Linked DNA regions of Homo sapiens: regions 1, 2 and 4 are each linked to region 3. Evidence: promoter capture Hi-C in 16 types of primary human blood cells and fetal thymus (Javierre and others, 2016). All regions are on one chromosome and are shown on one strand. Each heading gives the region's core, a stretch centred on a gene start or on the middle of the fragment in contact. The rest is flanking DNA. Distances are from core to core; before and after follow the strand shown.

Evidence for each region. Contacts are between HindIII fragments. The CHiCAGO score rates a contact against its expected background, and 5 or more counts as called.
Region 1: the fragment with the promoter of FXR2 here is called in contact with the fragment with the promoter of KCTD11 in region 3 in 15 of 17 cell types (naive CD4 T cells, endothelial precursors, M0 macrophages and 12 more); the score reaches 8.6 in naive CD4 T cells.
Region 2: the fragment with the promoter of SLC16A11 here is called in contact with the fragment with the promoter of KCTD11 in region 3 in 4 of 17 cell types (naive CD4 T cells, M1 macrophages, monocytes and 1 more); the score reaches 6.8 in naive CD4 T cells.
Region 4: a contact is called between a fragment that was not itself captured here and the fragment with the promoter of KCTD11 in region 3, in 1 of 17 cell types (naive CD4 T cells). The highest score is 5.2, in naive CD4 T cells.

The regions. Positions count from the first base shown.
Region 1 is chr17:7,613,433-7,616,295 of GRCh38, reverse strand. FXR2 (FMR1 autosomal homolog 2) reads left to right here and starts at 1,399. Exons shown (of 17, transcript NM_004860.4): 1 at 1,399-1,844. The coding sequence starts at 1,764. It also overlaps a transcript of SHBG not described here. RefSeq lists silencers at 1,155-1,204, 1,315-1,844. The HindIII fragment of the contact is 2,190 bases long and covers 427-2,616 here.
Region 2 is chr17:7,042,842-7,045,683 of GRCh38, reverse strand. SLC16A11 (solute carrier family 16 member 11) reads left to right here and starts at 1,592. Exons shown (of 5, transcript NM_001370549.1): 1 at 1,592-1,909; 2 at 2,165-2,372; 3 at 2,611-2,754. The coding sequence starts at 2,171. It overlaps LOC124903909 (a long non-coding RNA gene), which reads right to left and starts at 2,617. Exons shown (of 2, transcript XR_007065598.1): 1 at 2,444-2,617. RefSeq lists silencers at 1,986-2,115, 2,186-2,245. The HindIII fragment of the contact is 13,319 bases long and covers 1-2,842 here.
Region 3 is chr17:7,350,413-7,353,420 of GRCh38, reverse strand. KCTD11 (potassium channel tetramerization domain containing 11) reads right to left here and starts at 1,259. Exons shown (of 1, transcript NM_001363642.1): 1 at 1-1,259. The coding sequence starts at 595. It overlaps ACAP1 (ArfGAP with coiled-coil, ankyrin repeat and PH domains 1), which reads right to left. Exons shown (of 22, transcript NM_014716.4): 21 at 2,422-2,471; 22 at 1,944-2,126. The coding sequence ends at 2,026. RefSeq lists silencers at 1,181-1,950, 2,001-2,060, 2,131-2,190. The HindIII fragment of the contact is 3,784 bases long and covers 1-3,008 here.
Region 4 is chr17:7,661,292-7,664,285 of GRCh38, reverse strand. No RefSeq gene overlaps it. Among named protein-coding and RNA genes, the nearest start is that of ATP1B2, 12 kb to the right of the region's middle. The HindIII fragment of the contact is 9,601 bases long and covers 1-2,994 here.

The sequences.
Region 1 (2,863 bases), core at 150-2,649, 260 kb before region 3:
CTCATTGCCCAGGCTGGAGTGTGGTGGCATGATATCCACTCACTGCAACCTCCACCTTCCTAGGTTCAAGCGATTCTCCTGCCTCAGCCTCCTGAGTAGCTGGGACTCCTTCCGAGTAGCTGGAACTACCACGGCTAATTTTTTGTATTTTAGTAGAGACGAGGTTTCACCATGTTGGCCAGAATGGTCTCCATCTCCTGACCTCGTGATCCGCCCGCCCGTGATCTCGGCCTCCCAAAGTGCTGGGATTACAGGCCTGAGCCACCGCGCCCGTCCTAATTTTTGTATTTTTAGTAGAAACAGGGTTTCGCCCTGTTGAGGCTGGTGTCAAACTTTTGGGCTCAAGTGATCCACCGCCTGAGCCTCCTAAAGTGCTGGGATTACAGGAGTGAGCCACAGCGCCCGTCTGAAACTATTCTTAAAGCTTTCTTTCTATTCTTTCTTTCTTTTTTTTTTTTTTTTGAGACTGAGTCTTGCTCTGTCGCCCAGGCTGGAGTGCAATGGTGCGATCTTGGCTCACTGCAACTTCTGCCTCCCAGGTTCAAGGTAGTCTCCTGCCTCAGCCTCCCGAGTATCTGGGATTACAGGCGCGTGTCACCACGCCCGGCTAATTTTTGTATTTTATTAGATGCGGGGTGGGGGGGGGGGTGGGTTTCACCATTTTGGCCACGCTGGTCTCGAACCCCTGACCTCAGGTGATCCGAGGACCTCAGGTGATCCACCTGCCTCGGCCTCCCAGAGCGCTGGGATTACAGGCGTGAGCCACCGCGCCCGGCCAAAACTTTCATTGTATCACAATCTCTTCAAGGTAAGAGCCATGACTGTTAAATCTACTACAGTAGAGAGTTACAGATTCTTAAAATATCGGCGATGCATACGCGAAGAGGGTAAAGCTCAGCGCGTGCGCACCAAGCACCTTTTTCCTTGCGGCGACTCCTCTTCTTTTTTTTTTCTTTTTGGAGCGTGCGCACCAAGAAAGACAAAGGTGGGGAAAGTGACCAAGCAGTCGTTCAGGCGCATGCCCATCCCTAACTTGTCCAAGCCCGGTGGGGCCAGCGGCGGCGGAGTGGGTGTGGCCTGAGCGCTGTGTGACTGTGCGGACGCCGCCCAATCGGACTGAGCGAGCCCGGCCCCTCCCTCCCCCTGATTGGTTGGTTCTCAGTGTTGTGGGGCGGGGAAAGGAAGAGACGGGGTGGCTGGGCGGTGGAGCGGTGAAGAAAGAAGGCTAATCTTGTTCTGCGCAAGCGCTAGCAAGCGACCAGGAGGGGGAGTGAGAGAGTGAAAGGGAATGTGGAAGCCCCGATGCGCTAGCTGGCGCTAGCTGGGGCTCTAACCTTGACGCCTGCGCGGTGGCCCTCGGGGCCCCGCGCGCAGCGGGCGGGTGCCCGGTGCGCCTGCGCAGTAGGCGGCGGTGGCAGGGGGAGGTGGAGGCTGTGGAGCGGCAGCGGCAGCAGCGGGTCCCGGGACTGAGGCAGCAGCGGGGGCGGCGGCGGGCGGAAGCTGAGGTGACGAAGGCAGCGGCGGCGGCGGCCGTTTCCCTCACGGTGGCGGAGACCAAGGCGGCGGCGGCGGACGGGGAGCGGCCCGGCCCCGGCCCCCTGCTCGTTGGCTGTGGCAGGGCCGCCGTGGGGCCGGCCCGGCTCCCGCCCCCCGCGGCTCCCCCTCCGGCTCCTCCTCCGGGGAGACGCCGGGGGCCTGGCCCGGCCCGCACTCAGACTGCTGCTGCAGCCGCCGCCGGGGGAGTCGGAGGCGGTGGCGGCGCCATGGGCGGCCTGGCCTCTGGGGGGGATGTGGAGCCGGGACTGCCCGTCGAGGTGCGCGGCTCCAACGGGGCCTTCTACAAGGTGAGACGGCGCGCCGACTGGGGACGCCGGTCCTTAGCCCCCTCCCCTGGCCGGAGCAGGAACGCGTGGGGCGGGATCGAGCTTCTGGAGCTGAGTCCTGGCCCTTAGAATCTTGGACCCTTGCTCCAACCCGCAGCCTTCCCTGGGAGACCGCTTAGAGTGAACCCTGTTCCTCTTATTTTTGACCCCTCTAAGGCACCTGCACCTGCTTCTACCCCCATCTCCGGGAGAATGAACTTCAGGCCATTATTGTCCCTGGCTTGGCGCTCCCCGCTCCGCAGGAGAGACCCCTTTACCCAGCTTCTAATTGACTGTGTCCGTTGTCTGGTGGAAGACATACCTTAGACCTTAATCACATCTTCCCCACGATCCAAGCACATGGAGAATTGTCTTTCTTCCACACGGTCCCTTTGGGAAGGCCCTCTGTCCCGTAAAAGATCCTTTCATCTTCCTCAGAGAGGCCTCTGCCTACTGGCTCTGGAACACTCACCCCACTTTCATCTTATATTCCGGTTCCCAAGCCAAGGAGAAATGGTCAGATCCATTTACGACGTTTGGCATCTTTGACCTCAGGAACCCTGGGTTGGATCAGTCAAGTTGCTTCCCAGCCAGCCATAAGGTGGCATCTTTCGCAAGTCTCTCTCCCCACCACACCTTGATCTCAAGACCCACTGCTCTACCATTCTACTCAGGAATGGATTTGAGGTCTCACTTAGACCTCAGATACCTTCAGGTCATTCATATAGTTTCTTCGTCTTGAGGCATGTAAGCTTCATAGTCATAATCTCTAAAAGGATCTCTGAAAGGAAGCTTATGAGGTTCCCTTCTGTTTATCTTAAGATTTCCACTTCTTGAAGACTCTTGGCCAACTATCCCAGTTCGGGAATCTGACAACCTTTTTTGGAAGACGGGATCATCTTTCAAAGACCCTTCCTTATTTCACCTCCCCCTTTGCCCAGGATTTGGTTCCTTAGAACTCCTTATAATACCACCTTCCTTATCTGCTCTGAATCTATTTT
Region 2 (2,842 bases), core at 343-2,842, 310 kb after region 3:
AGGATTGCTTAAGTCCAGGAGCTTGAGACCAGCCTGTGCAACATGCTGTGACCCCCTCTCTACAAAAAAAATGAACAAATTTAGCCAGGCATGGTGGTGTGGAGCCTGTAGTCCTCGCTACTCGGGAGGCTGAGGTGGAGTATTGCTTGAGCCTGGGAGGTGGAGGCTGCAGTGAGCCATAATGGCAGTACTACACTTCAGCCTGGACAAGACCCTGTCTCTATAAATAAATACACACACACATACATACATACATACATACATACATACATACATACATACATAATAAAAAATAAAATTCTAACCTAAGTGTTTAGAGATTCTGATCTCAAGAATCCTTTCTATTCCCAGTGACCCCTTATTTTAGACTCATAAGTTTTCTGTCCCTGCAATGGTTCCACCCTTTCCAGGGCAGTTTGCTTCAAGCTGTATCCAGGATCTTTCCCTTAACTGTGCCAGATTTTGTTTCAGTCCTGGGATTGTTCTCCTTGTAGGTCCACAGTTGGACAGACCTAAATTCAAATATCCATACCATTTTTTCCCTGAGAGCTTCAGTTACTGCATCTATAAAAGAGGCACGACATCGGCCAGGCGCGTTGGCTCACTCCTGTAATCCCAGCACTTTGGGAGGCCGAGGTGGGCGGATCATCTGAGGTCAGGAGTTCCAGACCAGCCTGGCCAACATGGCGAAACCCCATCTCTACTAAAAAATACAAAAATTAGCTGGGAGTGGTGGCAGGCGCCCGTAATCCCAGCTACTCAGGAGGCTGAGGCAGGAGAATGGCTTGAACTTAGGAGGCAGAGGTTGCAATGAGCCGAGATCTCGCCACTGTACTCCAGCCTGGGCTACAGAGTGAAACTCCATCTAAAAAAAAAAAAAAAGAAAAGCGACACCTTCTTCATAGGGTTATCATAAGATGAAGTGATAGCATGTGTAAACGGTGCCTGGTACACTGCAGGTCTTCACATTGAGGGAGTCGTGTTTCATCCCTCTGTCCTTGAGGACCTGTTATTTTATTTTATTTATTTTATTTTTGTTTATTTATTTATTTTTGAGACAGAGTCTTTCTCTGTCACCCAGGCTGGAGTGCAGTGGCATGATCTTGGCTCACTGCAACTTCTGCCTCCCGGGTTCAAGCGATTCCCCGCCTCAGCCTCCCAAGTAGCTGGGACTACAGGCGCCCGCCACCACACCCGGCTAATTTTTTTTGTATTTTTAGTAGATATGGTGTTTCGCCATGTTGGTCAGGCTGGCCTCGAACTCCTGACGTCAGGTGATTCACCCACATCGGCCTCCCAAAGTGCTGGGATTACAGGCTTGCACCGCGCCCGGCCTGGGGGTCTGTTATTCTAAGCACAGAGCTGGCACTTGGTGGAGGTCTGTGATCTGATTGATATCCGAGATTTACCTGGTCCTCGGCAACGTTCCTGAGAACAAAACTACTCATCCCCTCAGGTTTTGGGGACCATCCCTATTTCCACGCGTTGGCGGTGGACCCTGGGCTCGCTGGGGTTTGCAATCCACGTGTCTCCCCTGCGCGCAGCAGGCGGCAGGTGCATGCGTGTGAGTAGGGCAGGGCCCCTCTGCATTCATTTCTCGCCGCTCCCCCCTCCCCCGGGCCTGGGGGTTGTGTGTGTACATAATTCAATCCCCGTGGGACTGGCGTCTGGCCTCACGCGCGGCTTGCCGGATTGGCTGTTTCAGCTCGCCCCCGCCCTCCGTACACCCCGCGTCCCAGGTGGCTCAGGCCCCTGTGGTGATCTCTGTTTACCGAGAGAGCCCGTCCAAGTTGGGCTCCATCGCTGCCCTCGCTCCCCTTCGGGGCCCCCGCCCGCCTGGGAAGCAGAGAGAAAGCCGGGCCCAGCCCTTCCTCACCCTTCCCCTCCCCGCACCGCCCGGAGAGGTCGGGTAAGGGGGAAGGAGTGTGCGTGGGACGGGGAACCTCGGGCCTGGGGATCTGGCTGTCCCCGTCCCCGTACCTCGCGCGGACCCGGGAGTTCCAGCCCTAGGCCAGGCTCCGGCTCCCTCCGCCCCGCGCCATCGCGCTCGGAGTGACGGGCCCACCCCGGGCGAGCAGCCAGAGGCTGGATCTCAGGGATGCCAGCTCCCCAGCGGAAGCACAGGCGTGGAGGCTTCTCTCACAGATGTTTCCCCACCCCGCAGACGGCGATGACCCCCCAGCCCGCCGGACCCCCGGATGGGGGCTGGGGCTGGGTGGTGGCGGCCGCAGCCTTCGCGATAAACGGGCTGTCCTACGGGCTGCTGCGCTCGCTGGGCCTTGCCTTCCCTGACCTTGCCGAGCACTTTGACCGAAGCGCCCAGGACACTGCGTGGATCAGCGCCCTGGCCCTGGCCGTGCAGCAGGCAGCCAGTGAGGGGGGCCCTGAGGCGGGAGACAGGAACGGGGAGGAGGAGCCGTGAGTGGAGGGATGGGAGACCCACCTGATTACCCGACAACCTGAGAAAGGGCAACCGGCTCTAGAAAAGAGTGCATCTTGAGGTCAAGGAGAAGAACCATTAGTTCGAGGGAGGCAAACAGCCAATGAGAAGTGTTGGAGAGAGTTTGGGGGCCCGGGGGCGTGTCTTCCGTTGACTCCGCCCCCTTTCAGGCCCCGTGGGCAGCGCCCTGAGCACGCGCTGGGGGGCCCGCCCCGTGGTGATGGTTGGGGGCGTCCTCGCCTCGCTGGGCTTCGTCTTCTCGGCTTTCGCCAGCGATCTGCTGCATCTCTACCTCGGCCTGGGCCTCCTCGCTGGTGAGGGAAGTGGGATGCCCGGGTCATTCAGGGTGAAGGAGGTGACAGGAGCTTGTTGGGATCTGGGGTAGCGAACGAGGCGGGGGCC
Region 3 (3,008 bases), core at 10-2,509:
CCCACTCCAGATGAAAATGTGGGCTCCCCTCTGCCCTATCCCCACTGGCCACACCAAATCGGGCCCGCAAAGCACCTAGACACTCAGAGTCGGTGCAGAAAAGGTTGGCTCGGAAGGTGTCCACCTGGACGGAGCTCAGCTCATAGTGATGGGGTCCCCGGCGAGCAGAGAAGTGCACCAGGCGGGGGCTGACATCTACATCTGCGTGGAGCAGGGCAGCTGTGGGTGCAGGGGTCCCCTGAGAGGCCTCCAGTTCCCGCAGCGCGTCCAGGAGGGGCCGGATCTGGTAGAAGTCAGCCTCTGCCCTGAGCAGCGCTGTCTCTCCGTACCCACGGGGCAGGTCCAGGCGGCCCAGCCTCAGGAAATTGAGGATGTGCCGGAAGGCCTTGCCATCCCGGTCGATGAAGTAGTGGCCGCCTCCTTGGGAATTGAGGTTGGGGGGCATGGGGGTGCCGGCCCTAAACATGGCCCCCAGCATAGAGTCTGGGAAGCGGGTCAGGGTCTCCAAAGTGGTGGAATATAGTGTGCCCCCCACATTCAGGGTCACGGGGCCCCCAAAGGAGGGGGGCGAAGAGGGCACAGGAGGAGGAGAAATTTTGGGAAGTACAGGAGACACCGAAAGAAAAGAAAAGGCAGAACTTCCTGGGTGTGTGCAGAATTGGGTCGAAGCTGTCAGATTCGCTGGGTTGGAGGCACAGGTGGAGCACACCCAGTAAGGTTTGGGGCTCACCCCGGCTACTTTGGTGGTGGATGGGGAGGTGGTGTCAGGACACAGAAATCCCCAAAAGGTTGAGAGAAGAGATGAAAAGAGCAGAGGGCAGCCAGAGAGGGGAAGGGAGCTTGAGGTCTGGACGTATCCGATTTGGGGTGGTCAGCGACACCCCTCTGTGGTCTTCAGACAGTGGGTTTCCGGAATCCAACCAGCAGGTGACGGTGGCGAGCACAGGGCCGACTCTGAAGGGATGGCCTCCGAGACCCCGGGCAGATCGCTGCCGCCGTGGACGAGTCCAGCCAGGGCTCTGGGGCCACTCAGAGGCCTGGCCTGGCTGCCGGCGCGGGTCCCAGGAGATGGAGGCCGAACTGACGGGAGCGGATGGCGGAGCCCCCTTGTATCCGCCGGGGAGCGACGATGCGTGCTCAGCCCGGGCTGGGAGTGTCCGAGGGCTCTGATGGAAACAGCCAGGAGTTTCGGGACCCGGCCGCGCCGCCTTCCCTGGGTGTCGCCGCAGCCGCTGAGGTCCTCTCCGCCCCCAGGAAGTGGCCTAAGGGCAGCGGCCCGGGGCCCTTTAAGAGACAGCCCCGCCCCTTGGCGCCCCGCCCCCGCCCCCGCGAGGCTCGCGCGGCCCGGGCGGAGGTGGGAGGCTGGAGGCGAGTCTCGGACGCGAGAGACTGGGCGGACTGGCTGGACTGGCAGACGCTGGCGGGACGGGGTGACTCAGGCACGTCGCCCCGGATGTGGCCACGACCGCCCCGCCGCCGCTCAGGTGTGCCCGATCTCACGTCTGCAAGTCGGCGGGGCTGGAGCCTCTAATCCCACCGCTCAGAGCCCGAGGCCCGGCCGGCCCAGCCCGGGAGCCGAGTCCCTCCCAGCGGCTCCCCCGGGGAATTCCCGAGGGGGCGGGTGCTGAGCCGCCGCATTCCGGGGATGCCTTCCAGCCGGGGTGGCCCGGGCGCGCTCTCTCCGCGGCGGCGCGGGGCCAGCGAGCCCCAGGGCCAGCCCCACCCCTCGGCAGGACTGGGCTGGCCACGTCGCCCCAGCCCGAGAGCCCCCGCCCCGCAGCGCCCTGCGCTCAGGCCGCGGCCGAAGCTGCCGCCTCGCTCCCCGGAGTCGCACCTTGCTGGACTGGAGCTCGCAAACCCCCAGCTGCTCCCCGCACCTCGGGAGCCGCAGCGCCCAACACCCTACGGGCCCGAAGGTGGCGCCCAAGAAGTGAACCAGAAGGGAAGAGCGAAGCACGGAGGCTTTAATGGCAGAGGGCCCGGTGGCGGGGAAGGGAGGCAGGCGCGGGCCCCGTGGGCCTCGGGTCACAGCGTGTGGAGGTCATGACTGCGACGGCTCAGCTTCTCCGGGTCGTCTGACGCCATGAGGGAGAAGTCGCGGAAGATGTCAAGATACGTCTCATCTCCTGGGGGAGGGAGGAAAGGCCGGGAGGCGGCTGGGCCCCAGTGCAGAAGGGCAGGATCCGGCGGTTGGGGCCCACCTGGGGACCTCGCGCTCCGAGCCTGGGTGGGAACGTGCGCGCCGCGGGCACTGCGCCAGCACCTATGCCTTGCCAGGGCCTGGCACGTCGCATGCGCCCAATACGCATTTGTTAAATAACGGAATGAATGCAGCTGGGCACTAGGGAGAGAGGTCACCGTGGACCAGAAGCCCAGAGTTCAGGTGTTGGGCCTGGGGGGTGGGGTGGGTGTATTCTTTACCTGCCTGCCCCTGGGCCGCTTCAGCCTCCCTCATCTTTGCCAGTCGTAGCCTGAAGAGGAGGGAATTAAGAAATGAACGACACTATCTTTGGCCGGGCGCGGTGGCTCACGCCTGTAATCCCAACACTTTGGGAGGCCGAGGCAGGCGGATCACGAGGTCAGGAGATCGAGACCGTCCTGGCCAACATGGTGAAACCCCGTCTCTACTAAAAATACAAAAAATTAGCCGGGGGTGGTGGCGCACGCCTGTAGTCCCAGCTACTCAGGGGAGGCTGAGACAGGAGAATCGCTTGAACCCGGGAGGCGGGGGTTGCAGTGAGCCGAGATCGCGCCCCTGCACTCTAGCCTGGGCGACAGAGTGAGACTCCGTCTCAAAAAAAAAAAAAAAGACTATCCTCACCTCCCCCACAACTTCCCATCCTTTGAGCTGGGTTGCGTTCCGTTCATCTGCCCCCACCCCCGGGGTCACGTCTAGTGCTAAAAAGATGCCTGACAGCAATGTTGATGGGCGAATTACGCCTCTCAGGGTGGGCCAAGCATCCTTGCACCCTGCCCGCCCTCCCGCCTGCCTTCTACTCCACGTCCCA
Region 4 (2,994 bases), core at 1-2,500, 310 kb before region 3:
AAGAGATTGAAACCATCCTGGCTAACAAGGTGAAACCCCGTCTCTACTAAAAATACAAAAAATTAGGCGGGTGTGGTGGCACGCGCCTGTAGTCCTAGCTATTCAGGAGGCTGAGACAGGAGAATTGCTTGAATCCGAAAGGCGGAGGTTGCAGCGAGCCGAGATCGTGCCACTGCACTCCAGCCTGGGTGACAGAGCAAGACTCCATCTCAAAATAAATAAATAAATAATCAAGAACAGTATAAGGGGCTGTATGGTGGCTCATGCCTGTGATCCCAGCACTTTGGGAGGCCAAGGTGGGAGGATCCCTTGAGACCAGCCCAGGCAACAGAGAAAGACCCTGTCTCTATTTAAAAAAATTAAAAACTGGCCGGGCACGGTGGCTCACGCCTGTAATTCCAGCGCTTGGGAGGCCAAGGCAGGCACATCAGGAGGTCAGGAGTTCGAGACCAGCCTGGCCAACGTGGTGAAACCCCGTCTCTACTAAAAATACAAAAAGTAGCTAGGCGTGGTGGCAGGCACCTGTAATCCCAGCTACTTGGGAGGCTGAGGCAGGAGAATCGCTTGAACCCAGGAGGCGGAGGTTGCAGTGGGCAAAGATCGTGCCATTGCACTCAGCCTGGGTGACAGGGCAAGACTCCATCTCAAAATAAATAAACAAAGTAATTAATTAATTAAATTAAAAACTGTGGGGATATAGACTTACTCTGGTTTTATTTTTTCTTTTCTTTTCTTTTCTTTTTTCTGAGACGGAGTCTCGCTCTGTTGCCCAGGCTGGAGTACAGTGGCGTGGTTTCTGTTCTCTGCAACCTCCACCTCCCGGATTCAAGCGATTCTCTTGCCTCAGCCTCTTGAATACCTGGAATTACAGGTGCCTGCCACCACCCCCGGCTAATTTTTTGTATTTTTAGTAGAGACAGGGTTTCACCATGTTGGCCAAGCTGGTCTCGAACTCCTGACCTCATGATCCACCCGCCTCTGCCTCCCAAAGCACTGAGACTACAGGAGTGAGCCACTGTGCCCAGCCTACTCTGGTTTTAGTGCATTCAAGAGGAACAAAAAAGGAAGAAAATCACTAGTAAATATACCTCTTTCTGGTTAGAGTGGATGTTTGGAAATTATATATATATTATATTATATTATATATATTATATATATACACAAACACGTACATACATGCACACACATATATGCCTTTTTGATTATAGGATAGTATACCAAAACTCAGAAATATTATGGAATTAACAGAATTTAGTAAGGCAGATAAGTAGTAGGTAGAAAAATATTAATTTTATCTTCCAGCAGAAGCACTGTGAAAAATTAGACAACAAGAAAACATTCCATTCAAAATAATGACAATAAGGCCGGGCATGGTGGCTCACACCTGTAATCCCAGCACTTTGGGAGGCTGAGGCAGGAGGATCATCTGAGGTCAAGTTTGAGATCAGCCTGGCCAACATGGTGACACCCTGTCTCTACTGAAAATACAAAAATCAGCCAGCTATGGTAGTGTAAGCCTGTAATTCCAGCTACTCGGGAGGTCGAAGCAGAAGAATCACTTGAACCCAGGAGGCAGAGATTGCAGTGAGCCAAGATCCTGCCAGTGCTTTCCAGCCTGGGCAACAGTGTGAGGCTCCATCTCAAAAAAAAAAAAAAAAAAAAGACAATAGCAATAAACATTAAGAAATGTGTAATAGGAATGGCACACACAAAGAAGGAATGGCACAGAGCCTGTATGCAGAAGACCACAAACCCTTATTTAACGACGTAAGCCAAGATCCAAAGAAAATGATAGATTCTCAGATGGGAAAACTAAAAAAATAAGAAAAATCAATTATCTCGAGATAAATATAATATAATGCAATTTCAATTAGAATCCCAAATTTTCATTGTGTGTGTGTGTGAGTTGGGTAAATTTATCATAAATGTATAGGAACGAGTAAGTGTCACTAGTTGTTTAAATAAATACTGGATTTGGGCCAGGCATGGTGGCTCACGCCTCTAATCCCAGCACTTTGGGAGACCGAGGCGGGCAGATCATGAGGTCAGGAGATCGAGACCATCTGGCCAACATAGTGAAAACTCGTCTCTACTAAAGATACAAAAAATTAGCTGGGCATGGTGGCACGTGCCTGTAGTTCCAGCTACTCTGGAGGCTGAGGCAGGAGAGTTGCTTGAACCCGGGAGGTGGAGGTTGCAATGAGCCGAGATCCTGTCACTGCACTCCACCCTGGCGACAAAGTGAGACTCCGTCTCTCTCTCTCTCTTTAGGCCAAGGCAGGTGGATCACCTGAGGTCAGGAGTTCAAGACAGCCTGGCCAACATAGCGAAATCCCATCTCTACTAAAAATACAAAAATTAGCCTGGCAGTGGTGGCCCACGCCTGTAATCCCAGCTACTAAGGGGGCTGAGGCAGGAGGATCTCTTAACCAGGGAGGAGGAGGTTGCAGTGAGCAGAGATTGTGCCACTGCACTCCAGCCTGTGCAACAGAGTGAGACTCTGTCTCAAAAAAAATAAATAAACAAAATACTGGAGGCCGGGCACGGTGGCTCCCGCCTGTAATCCCAGCACTTTGGGAGGCCAAGGCGGGTGAATCGCTTTCAGCTCAGGAGTTCCGGACCAGTCTGGGCAACATGGCAAAACCCCGTCTATACTAAAAATACAAAACTTAGCCAGGCGTGGTAGTGCATACCTATAATCCCAGCTACTCGAGAGGCTGAGGCAGGAGAATCCCTTGAAACCGGGAGGCAGAGGTTGCAGTAAGCTGAAATCGTGCCACTGCACTCCAGCCTGGACGACACAGCGGGAGACTGTCTCAATAAATAAAATAAATAATATAAAATAACATAAATAATAAAATTGTAAATAATAAGTAAATAATAAGCAACAGAATGGAGAGGGGGTCCTATTTGCCTTGCCAGATTTTAGAGAACTTAGTATAGGCTAGGCAGGTGCAGTGGCTCACGCCTGTAATCCCAGCACTTTGGGAGTCC